Linked DNA regions of Homo sapiens: region 2 is linked to region 1. The links are contacts of gene promoters, found by promoter capture Hi-C in human tissues and cell types (Jung and others, 2019). All regions are on one chromosome and are shown on one strand. Each heading gives the region's core, a stretch centred on a gene start or on the middle of the fragment in contact. The rest is flanking DNA. Distances are from core to core; before and after follow the strand shown.

Region 1 (3,076 bases), core at 369-2,868:
TACTGAGTTATACACTGTAAAATGGCTAAAATGATAAATTTTATGTCATGCGTAAGTCATTTCGATTTTTGAAAACCTACTTTAAAAAAAAGTAGCACCAATATGTTCAACTCTGTTGCCCTAGAATATTCCAGCAGTGATTAAAACCACAAACTTGGCCGGGTACAGTGGCTCATGTCTGTAACCCCAGAACTTTGGGAGGCCAAGGCGGGCAGATCACTTGAGGCCAGGAGTTCAAGGCTACCCTGACCAACACAGCGAAACCCCGTCTCTACTAAAAAAAAAAAAAAAAAAATTAGCTGGGTGTGGTAGAACGTGCCTGTAATCCCAGCTACTCGGAAGGCTGAGGCAGGAGAATCACTTGGGCCCGGGGTGCGGGATGGCGGGCAGAGGTAGCAGGAGCTGAGATCGCAGGCACCATTGCACTACAGCCCGGGCGACAGAGCGAGATTGTCTGAATCAATCAATCAATCAACACCCTCCCCCTCCCCCTCCCTCTCCCTCTCCCTCCCTCCCTCTCTCTCTCTCTCTCTCTCCTGTGGCGGTCAGAGTAAAATTGAGAGCTCACTTTATGCAAAAGACTCTGCTAAGTGCTTTATTCCTATTGTCTCACTTTATTCTCTCATTAATCTTATAAAGCGCAGTCAGACTCTCCCGTTTATAGATGGGGAAATTGAGTCTTATAGATGTAAAGTCGCACACCCAAGACCCCACAACTCAGAAAGGGGCTACCTGCAATTCAGATGGAGGTATAGCAAGGCGCAGAGTCCTGTCCAGGGAGCCCACTGTGAGACCCCCCGACTGCCTCGCAGTCACCTGTACACATCATGTTGGGATCGCCGAGGGGCGCTGCAGCGATCCGGTTTCTGGGGCTGCGTCTGGGTGGCACGTTCAGAACGGGGACCTGCCTGGTTCTTCTTCCCAGCCCTTCCCCTCCAGCACCCGGCAAGGCCCAGTCAACACGAGCAAACTCGGAAATCCTGGCTGAACCCACGACCGCTGCATATTTCCATTTTAGAAAAACACGGCAACAACAACTCAAACCAAATCGTTCAGAAATGAGAATAAAGAAGCACCGACAAAGGAGGCGATTGCTGGGGCCGCTCGGGGGAGGAGCCGGGTGAGAGGCTGCAGGGAGGGCAGGGCATGCGCCGGCGACAACGGGGTTCGCGGTTTGGGGGGCAAGGCCCGGGGGAAGAGAGAGAACAGGGGTGCAGCGCCGCGGCGGGGGGCGTGAGGATGGAGCCGGGGGAAGGGGGGCTCTGAGATGTGAAGGGGCGGGGCTGGGGCTTTTTGGTCTGAAGGAAGGAGTCTCACGGGACGGAGGGACGAAGATTTCCTGGGGTCAGGGGCGCCAAGGGGCTTCGGGGCCGGATGCAGCGGAGGGGGCCCGGGGCCTGGGGGGCGTGGTGAGAGCTCAGAGGGGTCTCGCCAAGCAGCCGGCTGGCGCTGAGGGGACCGAGGAGGGGTCTGGGGCGAAAGGACCGCGAGAGGGCGCCCAGGGCGCGGGGGGCGCGGTACCTGCAGGCCGGCAAAGTCTTCCAAACCGGTCCCGCCAGACCCGCGCGGCCGCCGCCCCCGTCTCGGCCGCCGGAGCTGCTGCCGCGCCGCGCCCTCACGTGACCCGCGTACGCGCCGGGGGCGGAGCCGTCTCAGACCCGCCCCCACCCCCCGGCGTCCCCAGCGCGCCGGTCCGTCCCGAGTGCGCGTGCGCAGCGGTTGCCTGGGCGACCGGGGAAGCGTTGGGCTGTAAAGACTAGGGCGCCAGCGGCTGGCGAAGAAGGAAAGAGGGTACTCTCTGGCTGGGCTGGGGCCGTAGCGACGTCCGCCGCGAACCTGGGCCCCCCAAAGCTGCGGGGCGTTCGGTGTCGCCGAAGTAAACATGCACCCTGAGCCCTCGGAGCCTGCGACAGGTGGTGCAGCAGAGCTGGATTGCGCGCAGGAGCCCGGCGTGGAGGAGTCTGCGGGTGACCACGGGAGCGCAGGCCGAGGGGGCTGCAAGGAAGGTGCCGACTGCCCCCCAGGGAGGGCGGTGGGCGAGGGGCAGACACGGCTAGGCGCTCCAGCCCCCTTCCCACACCACATACCCGATCTTCACAGCCAAATAATAACAATAATAATAATGGTAGCAAGCAACGCTCTGCAGTAGGGGCTTCTCTCGCCATTTCGTACTGAGGAGGAAACATACTTAAGAGGTTACAAAACTTGCACCAAACAGATAACCCTCGGCTAGTCAGTGACAGAAGAGACTTGGCCGGGTGCGGTGGCTCAACGCCTGTAATTCCAGCACTTTGGGAGGCCGAGGCGGGCGGATCATCAGGTCAGTCAGGAGTTCGAGACCAGCCTGGCCAACATAGTGAAACCCTGTCTCTACTAAAAATACAAAAAATGAGCTGGGCGTGGTGGCGGGCGCCTGTAGTCTCAGCTACTTGGGAGGCTGAGGCAGGAGAATCGCTTGAACCCGGGAGGCGGAGGTTGCAGTGAGCCAAGATCTCGCCATTGCATTCCAGCCCGGACGACAGTGGGAGACTCCGTCTCAAACAAACAAACAAACAAACAAGCAAACAAAACCCACCAGACTCAGGCCCAGACAGTCTGGGTCTCCAGAGCCCCAGCCCTAACCCACCACGCTATTCTCCCTGGTCCCAACTTTGATGCTTTAAATGTGTCCCTTTATTGCTATCACTATGTAAGATCAAAGGCTTTCTCTCCCTCCAGACTGCATGTTGTGTCAGGGCAAGACATCTTGATTGAATTTGGAGTCTAGTCCAGTGCCTGACCTAGGGTAGAGAGTCCGAATGAAGACTTGGTTCTGGGGTCAGTGTGTGATCCCCTCACCAAAGTTTGCCAGAATGGACTTGAAAGATAACCTTCATGGCCAGGCACGGTGGCTCACGCCTGTAATCCCAGCAATTTGGGAGGCAGAGGCAGGTGGGTCACCTGAAGTCAGGAGTTCGAGACCAGTCTGGCCAACATATTGAAACCCTGTCTTTGCTAAAAACACAAAAATTAGCAGGGCGTGGTGACGTGCTCCTGTAATTCCACTTACTTGGGAGGCTAAGGCAGGAGAATTCCC
Region 2 (3,076 bases), core at 208-2,707, 400 kb after region 1:
CACTTCAGACGTGTGCACTTCTCTGTATATACTGTATCTCAATAAAAAATAAAAGTTGCTTCTCAGAATGGGGGCTTAAAAAATAAAAATAAGGCCGGGCGTGGTGGCTCATATCTGTAATCCCAGCACTTTGGGAGGCCAAGGCAGGCGGATCACCTGAGGTCAGGAGTTCAAGACCAGCATGGCTAACATGATGAAACCCCATCTCTACTAAAAATACAAAAATTAGCCGGGTGTGGTGGCACATGCCTGTAATCCCAGCTACTCATGAGGCTGAGGCAGGAAAATCACTTGAACCTGGGAGGTGGAGATTGCAGTGAGCCGACATCACGCCACTGCACTCCAACCTAGGCAACAAAGCTAGACTCCATCTCAAATAAATAAATAAATAAATAATACAAATCAAAAAGTAAAAGTAAAAGATAAATAAATAAACCTTTCTAGAGGGCTCACTGTGAGAAGCCTTAGGGAGGTTAAGGAGCTGACTCTGCCCCTCCTCAGTGCAACTCTTCCTTCCAGTCCTTGGTTTCCTTTGACTGCAGCTCCCTGACAGTAGATGTGATTCTGCGACACTCAGAATACCTCCTGGAGTACAGAGGTACGAGAGTGAACCAGTAGGCTCGACGCCCTAACGTACGGTGCCTGGATGTCCTTTTTGAATCTGTTGATGGTTTCTGTTTAGGTTCTGTTAACATTGGATGAGCACCCAATGTGCCAGGTCCTGGGGACACAAGGATGAGGAAGTCCCTGCCCTCAAAGAGCTCAGGATCTGGAGAGAAAGGACCCCTCAATTAGAGTCCAGTGTGTTAAATGCCCCCCAGGGAGACTCGGGAGGATGAGGGAGGCTGGGAAGATTCTACAGGCCCAGGGAGAGAGGCCAGTGGAGAATGAGGGGTGAGGGGAACTCCCAGTGGCTCAGGACCCACTAGGCCTCAATGTGCGATGGGCATCAAGAGGCTGAACTTGCTGGCATCAGGGGTCCTGCCAACACTCCTCAGAATCTCTGATTTACAGTATCGGGGTAGTCACATGAGAACGAAGCTCAGCTACAAGTGCACACTACAGCATTGTTTAAAACAGTGACAAAATGGAAAGCAAGCTACGTTTCCAAAGATGGAAGATTAACCCAAAGAATGATAGAGGGGCCAAATGAGGGGACTCTGGTAGAACCTGGAAGTGATGCTGGGGAAGACTGTTTCATGATTCTCAAGGCCCATGGATGAGCTGGGATTTGACCCTCTGTGAAAGCCCCCAGGTGAGCCTGCTGCAGTGCCATGGTTGCTGGCAGAAGACACGAGCCTCCTGGGTCAGAGACAAGTGACTTTATTACTCGCAGCACAGCAAGTAGCATGAGCTTTATGTTTGCATCGGTTTCCCTTGTCCCCAAGTCCCACAGGGGCCATGCAAAGGGGCCCGGAAGGGGTGGGTGTTGCGCACACAGCACATTTCTCACAGCTGAGGATCCCTGAGCTCAGGGAGCCCAAATTTCTTATAAGAAATCCTGATCCTTGCCCTGGGGGCAAACATCTATCTATATTGGACAGAAAACAAATTTGCCCTTTGATCTGAGGGGACACACTGTCTCTGTCTAACAAAGTTGTTTGCTATATAAACATCCTTGTAAAGATAGTTCTTCTACTTGCAAGACATGTAGAAACCTGAGAGACCCATGGAGAACTGTCTCCCAACAATGACACAGAAAGAAAATTTAGGCCGGGCATGGTGGCTCACGCCTGTAATCCTAGCACTTTGGCAGGCTGAGGCGGCTAGATAACCTGAGGTCAGGAGTTCGAGACTAGCTTGGCCAACAAGGCGAAACCCTGTCTCTACTAAAAATACAAAAATTAGCCAGGCATCATGGCATGCACCCAGCTACTTGGGAGGCTGAGGTGTAGTCCCAGCTACTTGGGAGGCTGAGGCAGGAGAATCACTTGAACCCAGGAGCCGGAGGTTGCAGTGAGCTGAAATTGCTCTACTGCACACCAGCCTGGGTGACACAGCAAGACTCCATCTCAAAAAAAAAGAAAAGAAAAGAAAAAATTTAGAGTCGCCAAGAAACAGATAACAAAACAGTATACATGTGTGAATCTGCACATTTGGTGTCTGCATGTGCATATTACGTAGGCACTAATACAAGCCCAGCAGAATATTCCCACAAATGTTCACAGGGGTTCTTGCTGGGCTTTCGTTCTATGATGAACAAAATAGTGACCATTGTACCTAGTAATCAATAGCCAACCCTTGCTATATGTTTGTAACATTCCAACCCCTGTTCTGAGCACATTACAGGTATCACCTCATTTAATCCTCATGACAAGCTGTGAGTCAGGAGCTGTTTATCATCTCCATTTTCAAGATGAAGCAAACCGAGGCCTGGAGTGGTCACTCAGTGGGGATTGAGTAGAGTTAGGATTCTGAATCCAAGTAGTGTGGCTGCAGGCTCCATCCTTTTTTTTTTTTTTTAGACAGGGTCTCATCGTTGCCGAGGCTGGAGTGCAGTGGTGTGATCTCAGCTCGCTGCAACCTCCGCCTCCTGGGCTCAAGCGATTCTCCCACCTCAGCCTCCTGAGTAGCTGGGACCACAGGCGCACACCACCACACCTGGCTAATTTTTGTAATTTTTGTAAGATGGGCTTTTGCCATGTTGGCCAGGCTGATCTTGAACTCCTGACCTCAAGTGATCTGCCTGCCTCGGCCTCCCAAAGTGCTGGGATTACAGGCATGAGCCACTGTGTCCAGCTTCATCCTCTTAAAACCACATTCCTTATGCCTTGAATAAAGCCTTATTATTATAGCAGAAAACGCCCTCTTTCCAGCAGCCTTTTATTTATAGATTTAATAAGTCTAAAATAGAAAGACAGGAATTGTTTTCTCTACTCAGAAAATTAAGTGAATCGAAAACCGACCGTAGTGGAATATGACGACTGTGTAATAACAGGCAAATGCAAAAATGATCACATCAAATGGCAGTTTATATAATTTATATGAAGCAATATTGCAAATTTATTTTAAAATACATATGCACAGGAAAAAAGCACTAGAACAAGATATACGAAGCTATGACTGTGTTTGCTTT

The links. The method cuts DNA at HindIII sites, captures the fragments that hold promoters and counts their contacts. A contact is called where the count stands out against the background at its distance.
Region 2: a contact is called between a fragment that was not itself captured here and the fragment with the promoter of HSDL1 in region 1, in 1 of the 25 tissues and cell types used here (IMR-90 fibroblasts).

The regions. Positions count from the first base shown.
Region 1 is chr16:84,143,559-84,146,634 of GRCh38, forward strand. HSDL1 (hydroxysteroid dehydrogenase like 1) reads right to left here and starts at 1,619. Exons shown (of 6, transcript NM_031463.5): 1 at 1,522-1,619. DNAAF1 (dynein axonemal assembly factor 1) reads left to right here and starts at 1,750. Exons shown (of 12, transcript NM_178452.6): 1 at 1,750-2,006. The coding sequence starts at 1,883. RefSeq lists silencers at 1,044-1,093, 1,144-1,193, 1,354-1,803. The HindIII fragment of the contact is 9,646 bases long and covers 1-3,076 here.
Region 2 is chr16:84,538,885-84,541,960 of GRCh38, forward strand. No RefSeq gene overlaps it. Among named protein-coding and RNA genes, the nearest start is that of MEAK7, 36 kb to the left of the region's middle. RefSeq lists a silencer at 2,179-2,473. The HindIII fragment of the contact is 4,984 bases long and covers 1-3,076 here.